2 separate regions of the Homo sapiens genome follow, and region 2 is linked to region 1. The links are contacts of gene promoters, found by promoter capture Hi-C in blood cells and fetal thymus (Javierre and others, 2016). All regions are on one chromosome and are shown on one strand. Each heading gives the region's core, a stretch centred on a gene start or on the middle of the fragment in contact. The rest is flanking DNA. Distances are from core to core; before and after follow the strand shown. Region 1 holds the start of NCOR1 (nuclear receptor corepressor 1). Region 2 overlaps PIGL (phosphatidylinositol glycan anchor biosynthesis class L).

Region 1 (7,285 bases), core at 2,727-5,226:
TGCAATTAATATTCTTAACAGAGCATAAATTTTAGAAGAAAAGTGCTTGGGCTCCAATTCTTAATAAATATGTAAAATGGTTTACTTTTACTGGTAACAAAGGTTTTTGGGGGAGAAGATACTAAACAAATTAAGAAATTTATAAAAAATGGCCAGGTGTGGTGGCTTACGCCTGTAATCCCAGCACTTTGGGAGGCTGAGGCGGGCAGATCAAAAGTTCAGGAGATCAAGACCATCCTGGCTAACACAGTGAAACCCCGTCTCTACTAAAAACTAAAAACAAATAAAAAAATTAGCTGGGCATGGTGGCGGGCGGGCGCCTGTAGTCCCAGAAAGAAGGGCGTGAACCCAGGAGGCAGAACTTACAGTGAGCCGAGATTGCGCCACTGCACTCCAGCCTAGGCGATAGAGCAAGACTCCGTCTCAAAAAAAAAAAAAAAAAAATTTATAAAAAATGTCAGTCAATGCTACAGAAAGTAGTATATTAAGACAGATACTCTCATTAGTGCCAGTAAGAATGTAAATAGGTAGGCCAGGCATGGTGGCTCACACTTGTAATCCCAAGCACTTTGGGAGGCCAAGGCAGGTGGATCACTAGAGGTCAGGAGTTTGAGACCAGCCTGGCTAACATGGTGAAACCTCATCTCTACTAAAAATACAAAAATTAGCCAGGTGTGGTGGCATGCGCTTGTAAACCCAGCTACTTGGCAGGCTGACGCAGGAGAATCACTTGAACCCGGGTGGTGGAGGTTGCAGTGAGCCGAGATCACGCCACGGCACTCCAGCCTGGGCAACAGAGCGAGACTATCTCAGAAAAAAAAAAAAAAAAAAAGAGTAAGTTGGCATTTTGTTTTTGGGAATGTGTTTTGCAATGCAAAGCCTAAAAACAGCCAATTTTAAAAATTAATACTCATGAAATAATATAAAATACATAAAGATGTTCTCTGCTCTTTGCAATAAACTAGGAAAAAACCCTCTGAATGTACAAACAATAAGGGATGATTAAGGTTTATCCCGATGAAGCCATTTAACAGGCTATACATTTAGATCTAATTAATATAGGTAGATGTTTAAAGTTTCATGAGGACACTGCTCTTATCTAGCTTTCCACTTTTGTATCCCTAGGGCATAGAATAAGGCCTAGCACATAAATGTTTAATAAGTATTTGGTAAATAAATGAAAAAGTAATGTCGAGTAAAAACGATATAAAATTTTATAAAATGTGATTTCTGTGAAGAAGCTGTATAGAAAAAGAATTGGAAAGACACACAAACAAATGGGAAAAGAGGTCATGGGCAATTTAAAAAAATAGCTTTATTGAGGTATACTTTGACATGCCATAAAATTCACCCATTGTATGTGTACAATTCAATTACTTCATTTATACAACTGTTCAATTATCACCATATTCCAGCTTAATGGTCAATATTTGCTTTGTCATTTGATCTTTTCTCTATGGTAAGCAAAAATCTATTATTTGAAAGGTTCCTTCACTGAAAGCTGGGTGGAGTTGAACTCTAAAATTACCTACAAAATTACTTTCTATCTAGTCATCTATGTCTAATTCTTCAATTTGACACATGCATGTTACTAGCACAAGCTGCATTTTAAAGGCAGCAGGAAGGTCTTTTACTATCATTAGAAGTTAACTTTAAGGATTGAGCAGGCACGATACAGCATAGATTGTTTCGTGTGCTATATAGTAAGGTCAATATTCTTGCTCCTTCTACAAATAAAAAAAAGTTCCACAGAATAACAAGTACAGGTGGAGTTCCCAACGGAAATGCAGGTACTGAATACAACCAACTGCAACTGTTTCTCTGCTCCTCAATCCTGCTGGCGTAGTACGCGAGCTGCCGACGTCCCCCAACCCACCAGGTAAGCCGGCCGCTCCTGTCCCTAGGCTGTGAGGGGTTCAGAGGTAAGACCTTCGGTGTATTCACTTAGCTCCCTACGGAAAACTTCGAGAAGAAGGCGACTGAGATCGGTTAGCACTTAAATCCCTTTCAAAGCCCCGGCTCCCATCGCCCCTCCTATGGCCTCCTACCTGCAGAGAAGCAAAGCAGGTACACCCAGTGCCTTAGGCGGGCCAAGCCTAGCACTGTGGGAGCAAAAAACATGGCTTCATCGTCAGGGTGCGCTATGACCAGCAGGGTCCGGCTTTCGGCTCCCAGCCGTCCTCCCTGCTCCCGACTCTTCATTCGTTCTGAGGAGTCCCAAACCCAGAGGAAGCCCCATGCCAAGACCGCCAACGCCACACACAGGAGCCACATTGCTTCCATGATGGGTAAGCAGCACTGAGCCTGCGCAGTAGGAAAGGCTGCCTCTGACCCTGACTCCGGCTGGAAAACTTCACCGGGGAATGTTGGGTTCCGCTGTTAAGTCCCTCCCGCCGACATGCTCCGGAAGCTTGAGGTTTTAACGTTAAGGGTTCTCTTGTGTTTTAACACAGAAGTCTCCATGCCGTCCAGTTTCCTACCCTAGTCCTACCACACTGTACAATCGGTTTAAAAGGAAGCGTCTTATATATAAGCTCCCACTTATAGGAAGAGTTCCTTCCTCTTCATTTTCGAATTCATTTCTTAAAACTCGGGCCTTTCTCGTAATTATAGGGTTAGACAGCCCGTTATCCGTATGACAGTTTTCCAAAATAGCCAGTTACACCAACTTTGTTATTCCTTCTCACTTTTGGATGGCTTTCTTTACCTTTTTTTTTTTTTTTGAGAGGCTCTGTCGCCCAGGCTGGAGTGCAGTGGAGCGATCTCGGCTCACTGCAACCTCTGTCTCCCGGGTTCAAGCGACTCTTCTGCCTCAGCCTCCCGAGTAGCTGGGACTATAGGCGCGCGCCACCACGCCCAGCTAATTTTTGTATTTTTAGTAGAGAGGGGGTTTCACCATGTTAACTAGGCTGGTCTCGAACTCCTGACTTCGTGATCCGCTCGCCTCGGCCTCCCAAAGTGCTGGGATTACAGGCCTGAGCCACCGCGCCCGGCCCTTTCTTTTTTTTTTTTGAAACGGTCTGGCTCCGTCGCCCAGGCTGGAGTGCAGTGGCGCGACCTAGGTTCGCTGCTACCTCAGCCTCCCGCGTTCAAGCAATTCTCCCACTTCGGTCTCCCCAGTAGCTGGGATTACTGGCGCGCGCCACCACGCCCGCTTAATTTTTGTATTTTTAGTAGTGACGGGGTTTCTCCATGTTCGTCAGGCTGGTCTCGAACTCCTGACCTTAAGTGATGGCCCGCCTCGGCCTCCCTAAGTGCTGGGATTACAAGCGTGACCCACTGCGTCCGGTCGGGCCTGGCTTTTCTAAAGGAACGTATGCGTGCGGTTACGAGGAACCGTCGTTTCCCCAGCAGGGTGAGGCTGAGCGTGCACTTAACAGTCGCGAGGGCCACAGGCTCCTCTTGCAAGTAACTTAAGGTTAAGGAGCAACATCGTGGACAAATCGGCCTCGCCCAGCATTTCAGTGAGGGCTTGGTGCGAATTCCAGCCAGAGCCCTAGAAAGTATCTTGGGCAGGTCGAAATGCACCCCTCCAGCTCCCAGCCACGAGGGGACCGGCTTCCCTGTACGCAGCTCCGGCCAGAGGAGGCCGCCGCCGCCCCACCACGCCGCGGAGGGGTTTGCAGGGTCCCTTCCACGGCCTGGAGTTTTTCCTTTTCCCACGCCTGAGGAAGGCCTCGGGCGCGCGGAACAGACGGGCAGGCGGGGGGCGCACAAGCCCAGGGCACGATGGCAGCAGCGCTGGATCCGGCTGGGCGCTGCTCGGCCCCGTATCCGTCCGAGAGGACCGCCGCTGCCAGGCCTAGAGGAGACATGAAGAGACCGGGCGCAGCGCGACCCGGGAAGCTCCGCCGAGGTAGGAGAGGCGCCCGGCCAGCGGAGGGAGTTGGTCTCCCAACTCTCCGGAAGGAGGAGGAGCCGGCGCTGGAGCCGCCTTAGCCGCGGCTCCGCGGGCTGGGGGGAGGGAGAGGGGTTGAGTCAAGATGGCGGCCAAGGTGGCGAAGCAGCAGCCGCGGCGGCGGCGGCGGCTGGAGTGAGCGTCCGACTCGCCGCGCCGAACGAGGTCCCGGTGTAGGGCCGCGCGCCGTGGCCGCGTCCCACTCCTCAGGCCGGGGCGCACGTCGGCTCCCACGCTTAGCCAGCTCCCGGTGAGTAGGCCCTGGCGCCTGCAACCCCGGCCTCCGGGCTCCTGCTAGTCCGGGGGCTTCCGAGGGCTCCCGGGGCAGCAGCCGCTGGGACGGTTTCTCCGCCGGGCGGGGGGTGTCGCAGGCCTGGGCAGGTCGGGACCCGTCCTGGCCGCCTGGCCTCTTCCACTCGGCAGCCCAGGAGAGAGCCGGGCGCGGCGGGGAGCTCGGGCTGGGCTAGCGGAGGCTTATGGAGTTTGGAGGAAGAATGGGCTGTGGCCGGGCCGGGGCTGGCCCCGAGGTGTCCTGTGCGGAGGGGCGTGCGGAGCCTACAGGGCCTGCGAGGGAGAGCGGGCAGCCGGTGCCCCGGGTGGGGCCGGCGCAGGTGGCGGGCCTGGGCTCACTGAGGCGGAGTTGGTGGCCGACTTGGAAGTGTAGAAGGGGCTGCGGAGGTTGACAGCCATGGACAAGTGCGTGCAGAGTAAATTAGTTCACCTTTCTAACAGACCGCTTCAGGGTGTAATGGCGAAGGCTGGGTACTGGTGGAGATGGCAAAGATCCGAACACTATACCTTCTGCCGTTTATTGTTGGTGTTTTCTTAAGCGAAGTCCGTAAGTGCACCCCTTTTTGGGGAGAGAGGAATTTGAGAAACTGTAGTTGTGAAATCAGCCTTTATGGAGAGGAGACTGAATTCTTCAAATTAACTGGATCAGGAATAGTCATGTATTAAAGGAATGGATGGGAATAAGTGATATGGACGAAAACTATTTGCTCAGGAAGTGTCAGTTTTCTTTATGTGATGTTGCATGCTGCGGTGCCTCTTCCACAGAGTTAACCTTGGAGAGTAGTAGTATAGGTAATTCTAATCTTTGGGATTAGTATGTAAACCTGCATCAGATTTGCTTCTCTAATTATATCCTAATTATATTGAAATTTACATTCCTTGTGTGCACCCTGGTGAGGCAGTGATGGAAGGCTGAACATGGCACTGTGCAAGGAGCAACAGGCCCGGGATTTAAAAATGCCTACAAAGATTCATTCATTCGTTCAATATATCTTGATCAATAGCTGCTGATGCTGGGTCACATGTGATTGTCCTGTGGATAACTGAAGAGTTGATGGCATCGTTTAATTTTTAATAGCTTTTTAAAATGTTTTGATGTACCTTTTCATGAAGATATTTATTGGATGAACCAACTTGTACTTGCCCGGGCTCAGGAGCAGACCAATTTTAGAATGTTATTTAGACAAGGGTAACAATTACAGAAGAAGTAACCGCAAGTTACTGGAGAGAGAAATCTTGTATCTTTTTTTCTTTTTCTGTTAACATCCGGTGGAAGTTTATTTATTTGTTTTAATATTTATAGTACCCAGTTGCTTGGCCTTGCTTTAAGCACACCTGTTAATGGAAATCAAGATTAATTGTATATATGGATATAGCTATGTATAAAATGCTCACAGTAGGAACTGATTACTTACAATACTAAAATACTCTTTCCTTTTACAAAAGGCTTGCCATATGTTGAACTACTCCCCCGGAGAAAATATAATACAAAGTATCTTGATTCTTGCTCTAACTATGTGATTTTGGAACTTGATCAACCTTTCTGTGCTTCAGTTTCCTCATCTTGAATATTAGGTAAACATCTACTCTCCTAGGGTTGGCTGTTGTGAGCCTAAAGGGAGTTAATAGTTATAAAATTGTTTTAAACAGATTGAAGGGGTTATATTTCTGTGAGGTGGTAACAGCTCCCTCTGGGCTCCTGTAATGCTTTTTCTGCACATCTCTCGCGGCATTTACACTTTCTATCTTGTAGGTATTTATGTACCTATTTTATCTCTTGAGAGCAGGATAGGCCCTTCGCTGATTTTATCTTTTTTTTTTTTTTTTTTTTGAGACAGTCTTGCTCTGTCACCCAGGCTGGAGTGCAGTGGCGCAATCTCAGCTCATTGCAACCTCCGCCTCCGGGTTCAAGCAATTCTTCTGCCTCAGCCTCCCGAGTAGCTGGGACTACAGGCGCGTGCCACCATGCCTGGCTAATTTTTTTGTACTTTGAGTAGAGACGGGGTTTCACCGTGTTAGCCAGGATGGTCTCAATCTCCTGACCTCGTGATCCGCCTGCCTTGGCCTCCCAAAGTGCTGGGATTACAGGCGTGAGCCACCGTGCCTGGCTTATTTTTAATTGAATACTTGTTGGATTTAAAAAACAGTAAAATTTGTGTTTTGCCTATCCTCTTAATCAAAAAAGAATGAAATGATGGAAATTAACTTATAGGAAAGATTAGATTAGTTAATAACTTTTTTAAAGCTTTTTTTTTTTTTTTTTGGAGACAGGGTCTCTTTTGCCCAGGCTGAAATACAGTGGCTCGCTGCAGCCTTGACCTCTGGACTCAGGTGATCCTTCCACCTCAGCCTCCCAAGTCGCTGGGACTACAGGCACAGGCCACCACGCCTGGTTAATTTTTTTTTTTGTTTGTAGAGAAAGGGTTTGACCATGTTGTCTAGGCTGGTCTCGAGCTCCTGGGCTCAAGCGATCTGCCTGTCTCAGCCTCCCAAAGTGCTAGGATGATAGGGGTGAGCCACTGCACCCGGCCTTAAAAGCATTAAAAAAAATTGTGTTATGAATTGGTGAAATTTTCTTTTCTTACCTTTGTTATCTGCTGTAGAAGGCAAAGGCCTTTGGATAGACTGGGGGTTGATGTAGGTGAGTGTCAGGCTGTTTGTTTTTTAAAAAATATGTTTTGGTTATTTGGTTTTAATTGTATTCTGTGATCTATCTTAGTTGTAATTTCAAATTCTTCTTGATGCCTGGGAATGATGGAACTCTTGCATATTTAGTTCCATCTGTTCTTTTACTTAAGATACTGGATTTTACTAGACTATGATATAAAACAACTAGTAAAGATTGATCAGAATTTATTGTGTATAGTCTTATTTGTAGATTAGAGATTCATATATTTTTGTTTACTCACTTATATTCAACCAGTATGAGGTGCTTTTTATGTTCTGGCACACTACTAAATACTAGAAAGTTATAAAATATAGTCGAGCAGATCAGTTATATTCACAAATAACTCAGTCTATAGATTATCTTTTTTTTTTCTTTTTTTTTCCTTTGAGACAGGGTCTCGCTCTTGTCACCCAGGCTGGAGGGCAGTG
Region 2 (7,076 bases), core at 2,080-4,579, 59 kb before region 1:
TGTCTTTGTCCTCTTTAGAAGGTGGTTTTATAATCAATTATAGAACTCTAACAGGTGTTATTGAATGTAGGTTTCTAATAACTTTGTAAATTGTGACATTAAAATAGAGGAAAAAACTTTCAGGACTCATGAAGAGCTGAAATGTTCATGAATATCAAGCAAAACAGGAGTTAACTGCATGGATTGACCTAACAGAAGACTGAAGCAATCTTTTTTTAACTTTTGGCTTAAAACGTTGCTGATCCTTTCTTTTGTTTTTCAGAGCCAAGGAAATTTTTCTTTTGAGCTATTAACAGCTTTTAACAATTGAGTAAAGTATACTCCTGTGAACAAAATTTGAAGCATATTTGTTTCTCTCTGCCCAATTTCTCCAAAATTCAGAAACCATTTGTGAGCATTTTTAACTTATGGCAATATAATTATTTGCATAAATGCAATAAGAATGTTTTCTTTTGTATCAGAACACAATTGGAGAAACTTTTTTTTCACCAAGGCTTTGACTGGAATGACACTCTTTCCTTTAAGGAATCAAACTTGACTTACAGTGCCAATAAAAGCCCCTTAGGAAAACTGGCCTCATACATTGTCTACGTAGTCCCTGTACAGGGTTCTTGACCTGTGGTAAGTAAAGAATGTCACTTTATGACAAGTCCAGGAGCCCCAAGTTATCTTGGGATCTCAAGAAGAGAGAAATTTACCCAACTCATATAGATATTTGAGGGTACAGACCCATGGCTGGGCTCAGCTTTAAAAAAGTCTTATCTGAGATTCCTTCTAAGGAACAAAATTCCATCAAAGCTGATTTTAAAAGCCTATGTGAAAAATAATTATTGTTGCTGCACTTTATACAAATAATGAGGCCAAGTATAACAAAGCAAATCAGTTACCATGATTTGTCTTTAGTAAAAATGGGAGACTGGAGAGAAAAACGTTATGTTTCAAAAACTATGGTACGCATGTTATCAGAGTCTAGTCATTTTATTTTATTTTATTTTTTGAGATGGAGTCTCACTCTTGTCACCCAGGCTGGAGTGCAGTGGCACAATTGTGCCTTACTGCAACCTCCACCTCCCAGGTTCAAGTGATTCTCCTGCCTCAGCCTCCTGAGTATCTGGGATTACAGGTGCCCGCCACCACGCCTGCCCAGTTAATTTTTGTACTTTTCATAGAGACAGAGTTTCGCCATGTTGGCTAGGCTGGTCTCAAACTCTTGACCTCAGGTGATCCACCCGCCTTGGCCTCCCAAAGTGCTGGGATTATAGGTGTGAGCCACCACACCCGGCCAGAGTCTAGTCTTATCAGTAGTTTTTAAGTTTTTTTTCTGCAATTTAAACTGACTGCTTATTCCTGAGAACCAACCAGTGATCTCTGGCTGCTACTTAGAAGAAACAAGAGGGATAGATAATGTAAAAATCTGGATCAATATTCTAATTCTGGGCACATATTGGAATAAGCTAGTGACCCCATATCAACTTGGTTTCAACAATTGCCCAGTTCATGGAAAGACTTCTTATTTAGTTTACTTTGAATAATTTTACTTATTTTGCTTTACCATTGTGGAATGTGTTGCTGTTGTACTCTTTGTGTAGGAATGCAGGATAAGCTTACTGAATGTTTTCTTAAATTGAACACTTATTAATCTTTCAGATATCACCTTTTGTCAGAGTTATAAATGGCCCTCACCATAATGACGCTTTCTTTCTCTTTTTTTGAGACAGAGTCTCACTCTGTCACCCAGACTGGAGTGCAGTGGCCTGATCTCGGCTCACTGCAAACTCCACCTCCTGGGTTCAAATGATTCTCCTGCCGCAGCCTCTTGAGTAGCTGTGATTACAGGCACCCACCACCACACCTGGCTAATTTTTATATTTGTAGTAGAGACAGGGTTTCACCATGTTGCCCAGGCTGGTCTTGAGCTCCTGATGTCAAGTGATCTGCCTGCCTTGGCCTCCCAAAGCACTGGGATTATAGGTGTAAGCCACTGCACCCAGCCTCCATACTGACACTTTCTGACAGAGCTCCTCTCTACCCCAAATACAAGAGACCCTAATAGGCAGTAATATCATTGCCCCTATTCAGCCTGAAGAAGTCACAGAAGATGGATCTTCATCCCTCTACAGCCCTTAGGATTAAGGGTTCTCTTATAAAAGGAAGGGGTGAAATATGTCAGAGGCATTTGAACCACAGCAATTCCATCTTGAATAGGGGCTGGCTAAAATAAGGCAGAGACCTACTGGGTTGCATTCCCAGGAGGTTAGCATTCTTACTTATAGGATGAGATAGGAGGTCAGCACAAAATACACGTCATAAAGACCTTACTGATAAAACAACCTGCAATAAAAATCCCACCAAAATCCCACCAAAACCAAGATGGCAATGAAAGTGACCTCTGGTGGTTCTCATTGCTCATTATACGCTAATTATAATGCATCAGCATGCTAAAAGACACTCCCACCAGTGCCACTGACAGTTTACAAATGCCATAGCAACGTCAGGAAGTTACGCTCTATGGTCTAAAATGGGAGGAACCCTCAGTTCTGGGAATTGCCCACCTCTTTCCCAGAAAACTCAATAAGCCAGCCCTTGTTTAGAGTATAATCAGAAAATGACTGTAAGTGTCCTTAGTGGAGCATCCCACTTTGCTGGCCGGTGGAACAGCCATTCTTTATTCCTTTACTTTCTTTCTTTTCTTTTTTTTTTTTTGAGACGGAGTCTTGCTCTGTTGCCCAGGCTGGGGTGCAGTGGTGTGATCTCAGCTCACTGCAGCCTCTGCCTCCCGGGTTCCAGCCATTCTCCTGCCCCAGCCTCCTGAGTAGCTAGGATTACAGGCGCAAGCCACCACACTCGGCTAATTTTTGTATATTTAGTAGAGACGGGGTTTTGCCATGTTGGCCAGGCTGGTCTCAAACTCCTGACCTTAGGTGATCCGCCCCCCTCGGCCTCCTAAAACGCTGATATTACAGGAGTGAGCCATAGTGCCCGGCCTATCCCTTTACTTTCTTTTTTTTTTTGAGACGTAGTCTTGCTCTTGTCCCCCAGGCTAGAGTGCCATGGGGCTATCTCAGCTCAATGCAACCTCTGCCTCCCGGGTTCAAGCGATTCTCCTGCCTCAGCCTCCCAAGTAGCTGAGATTACAGGTGGCTGCCACCACGCCCGGCTAATTTTAGTATTTTTAGTAGAGACGAGGTTTCACCATGTTGGCCAGGCTGATCTCGAACTCCTGACCTCAGGTGATCCACCCGCCTCGGCCTCCCAAAGTGCTGGGATTACAGGTGTGAGTCACCGCACCCGGCCTCCTTTACTTCCTTAATAAACTTGCTTTTGCTTAAAATAAATAAATAAATAAACAAACAAACAAAGTGACCTATGTTCTACAGCAATGTTTTCTAGCTGAGATCCGCAAGAGAACTCTTGCCTTCCTCTTCTTGGCCTCAGGTCTGAACTGCTTGTCCTGTGACCCATTTCCTTTACACGCTCCAACCTTCTCACGTCTGGTTTCACTCTTATCTCCTACATCTGGCCTTGTCCTGACTTCCACACTTGACACCTGACACTATCTTCTTGGTAATAACCTTGGTTCCCAACTGACCAGTACTAAGGTTCCCTATTTGTGACAGTTAGCTTCAGAGCACTTTAAATAAATGCCTGTCCTGATTAAGTAGACTCTAGAAGCCCTGATGATCTGGGGCTTTGAACCACGCCCTGTGAGTATCACGGCCATCGATGGAGGCCATCAGTTTGCTAATGAGAACATGAGCCTCTTCACTAGCCAGGAGAACCTGGAGACCTCACCCTCCTCCAGAAGCCCTGTTCATGCCTCTGACATTTCTGCCCTAAAAAGTTTCCAATGGCTTAGTTTAGCTATAGGGCAAAAGGGTTTTCCCTCAAAGAAATGTTTCCCCCCTTTAGGCAGAGTGATATTTTTGGTGTCCAGACTAACAGGGATGAAGAACAGATGAATCATTTAGTGGAGGTGATGCATTATGCAGTCACTAAATGCACACATCTGGGAGACCCTTTGTTTTTTTTCCTCCCTCTTATCTTTGACAACCAATTGGTCATCAAGCCTTAGAATAGCTACCTCTGTAGCAGCACTAGAAACTATCTCCTCTCAATTTCCCCTGCCACTGCTTTTTTTTCTGACTCTGATTTCTCACGTGACCATACCTATTGGTTCCACTGCACCAAGTCTGGAGCCCCCTTCCCAAGCTGCTTTCCACAGTGTTGTCAAAAGAAGTCTTTCTAAAATGAAAATCAGATCAATTTATTGCCCATTTTGACGTACTTCAAAGCTCCTTATAGTTTTAAGACATTTCAATTCCATAACCTTCACCTGACACATGGTCTTTGTGATCTGGCATTTGCCTGGCTCCCTCACTTGATCTTCTGTCATATTCCCTCAGGCATGTGGACTCCAGCTATCTGGAAGAACTCATATGGAATGCACCTGGCTAATTCCTACTTGTCTCTTAAAGCTCAGATCACAGGCAACCTGTCTCTAGTGTCTTTCCTGGCTCCTGCATCTGAGTCCATGGTACCTTTGTGTGCTGTCCTCACATCATTAGTTGGTTTGTTGGCTTTTCCTAGACTGCAAGCTCCTTGAGGGCAAGGACTTGACTTGCCATTTTGTACTCCTAGGACCTGATATTTGAGATATAGTATATGCTCAAAAAATGAGTGCTAAATGAATAAACAAACACATTTCAAAGATTAATAAAGAAACAAAGTGAAACCCATGTTCCTCCCATGTCCTCTCAGAATCCTGTTTCATCCCAACTTCCACGTGAACCTGGCTCAGTGGGGCACCAGTTTTTTGTAAATACCTCAATCACAACTACAGAGTGTGCATCGAACACTGAGAATCATAGAGGACCAGGCAGATGACAAGAATGGCTGAAGGTGACCGACCCAAGTGGCCAGGGAAGTAAGGAGGTAGGAGGACAGCTGGAGCCAGGGACTGTTACAGAAGCCAAGAGTGGTTTCTGGATTGGGGGAGTGGTCAGCATTGGCCAGAGCTGCTGAGAGGTCCAGTAGGACTGGGACTGAAAAGCTTCCTACTGATTTCACAAATAGGAAGTAACCAGTGACTCTGGAAAGAGGAGCTTCAATGGCAGCGAGAAGTAGTAGGACGATGAGCCAGAATTTAATGCATTGGGGAATTAATAACAGGATGTGAAGACAATGCATGTAGATAATACTTGGTTATGAAGGAAGAGAAGTAGAGCAGTAATGGGATGAGGAGGGTTAAGTAGAGGTTTTTGTTTATTTGTTTTTAATGATGAGAGAATCTTGAACAAACAAATATGGAAAGAACCCAAATAATACAATAGGAATAGAGGCAAATGAAAATTTCCAGGAAGGCATGCTATGACTATAACAGATTACATGGCATAGGTCAGAACTATTGACAAAATGTCAATAATGAGGCTGTAAATAACAGATGTCCAGGTGTAGTCCTGGCAGCTAGTTCTAGGAAACAGATTGCTGTTAACTATTCTAAGTTCTGGGAATTTATTTCATAGGTAAAGCAATGGAGTGAGTGGAAATTTGATATTCACAACTTGTTTCAGGCTAAGGATAAAAGGCAGAAATAAGCAAGCTCACAGTAGGGAAATAGTGACACTGACTTTCACAAAATGGGATAAAAAGCAATGGCTTTGGGGTTAGGGTTGCCAATAGCAGATGCCAGTTAAAATTTGATTTTAAGCTGGGCATGGATGGAGGCTCATACTTATAATCACAGTGCTTTGCGGGGGCCAAGGTGGGAAGATTGCTTGAGGCCAGGAGTTTGAAACCAGCCTGGGAGACAGAGGAAACTATGTCTCAAAAAATAATGAAAATAAAATAAAATAAAATTTGAATTTCAGATAAACAAGTGAATAATTTTTTAGTATAATTATGTTCTGGCCGGGCACAGTGGTTCACGCCTGTAATCCCAGCACTTTGGGAGGCTGAGGCGGGCAGACCATGAGGTCAGGAGTTTGAGACCAGCCTGGCCAATATGGTGAAACCCCATCTCTACTAAAAATACAAAAATTAGCTGGGTGTGGTGGTGTGCGCCTGTAGTCCCAGCTACTCAGGAGGCTGAGGCAGAAGAATTGCTTGAACCCAGGAGGTGGAGGTTGCGGTAAGCCAAGATTGCACCACTGCACTCCAGCATGGGCGACAGAGCAAAACTCCATCTCAAAAAAAAAAAAAGTGTTCTATGTGAAATTTGGGACACACTTAACATTAAAAAATTATTGTTTATCTGAAACTAAAATTTAGTTAGGCACTTTGTATTTTATCTGTAACCCTATTTAGGGTACGTACCTATTTGCAGGACAATTATTCTGTTTATTGAACCACAAAATGCTAGTTGTGAAAAAACCTCAGAGATAATCTAACACAAGGCTCCTATTTGATGAAGAGAAGCCTGAGGGTCAGAGCATGAATGTGCCTGCCCACTGTCACAAAAGGTGGAGCTGAGGACTGATCCTGGACTGCTTGAGGTTGCTACAGAAGAATAATTCCTAATTATATTTTTGAGTCTAGCTTTAAGAGACATAATGAAGGTTGCTAAAGAAGAATAATTCCTAATTCTATTTTTGAGTCTAGCTTTAGGAGACATAATGAAATTCCCTAAGATGCCTTAGAATCACAATAATTTTAATAGACTTTATTCAATAAAGAAATACATACATTCTATGACTTCTTTAGGAATTACTGAGGAAAAAGGTACATTGTTGAATTGAGCAGTCATTCATAATACATCCCAATTACAAAAAGGTTAATAACCTTTACACTGGAAATGAGTCCAAGGGAGGGATCATGACTACTTTTCCTTTTCTCTTTTTTTTTTTTTGAGACAGTCTCGCTCTGTCGCACAGGCTGGAATGCAGTTGCGCGATCTCGGCTCACTGCAACCTCTGCCTCCCGGGTTCAAGTGATTCTCCTCAGCCTCCCGAGTAGCTGGGATTACAGGTGCCCGCCACCACACCCGGCTAATTTTTGTATTTTTAGTAGAGATGGGGTTTCACCATGTCGGCCAGGCTGGTCTCAAACTCCTAGCCTCAGGTGATCCGCCTACCTCAATC

The links. The method cuts DNA at HindIII sites, captures the fragments that hold promoters and counts their contacts. A CHiCAGO score of 5 or more calls a contact.
Region 2: a contact is called between a fragment that was not itself captured here and the fragment with the promoter of NCOR1 in region 1, in 1 of 17 cell types (M2 macrophages). The highest score is 7.0, in M2 macrophages.

What each region holds. Positions count from the first base shown.
Region 1 is chr17:16,212,225-16,219,509 of GRCh38, reverse strand. It overlaps NCOR1 (nuclear receptor corepressor 1), which reads left to right and starts at 3,976. Exons shown (of 46, transcript NM_006311.4): 1 at 3,976-4,148. It overlaps PIGL (phosphatidylinositol glycan anchor biosynthesis class L), which reads right to left and starts at 2,300. Exons shown (of 7, transcript NM_004278.4): 1 at 2,049-2,300. The coding sequence starts at 2,283. RefSeq lists enhancers at 2,275-2,524, 3,711-3,770, 3,348-4,263, 4,264-5,180 and a silencer at 4,041-4,510. The HindIII fragment of the contact is 4,024 bases long and covers 2,413-6,436 here.
Region 2 is chr17:16,270,659-16,277,734 of GRCh38, reverse strand. All of the region lies in intron 2 of PIGL (phosphatidylinositol glycan anchor biosynthesis class L), which reads right to left. Among named protein-coding and RNA genes, the nearest start is that of MIR1288, 7.8 kb to the left of the region's middle. The HindIII fragment of the contact is 3,447 bases long and covers 1,606-5,052 here.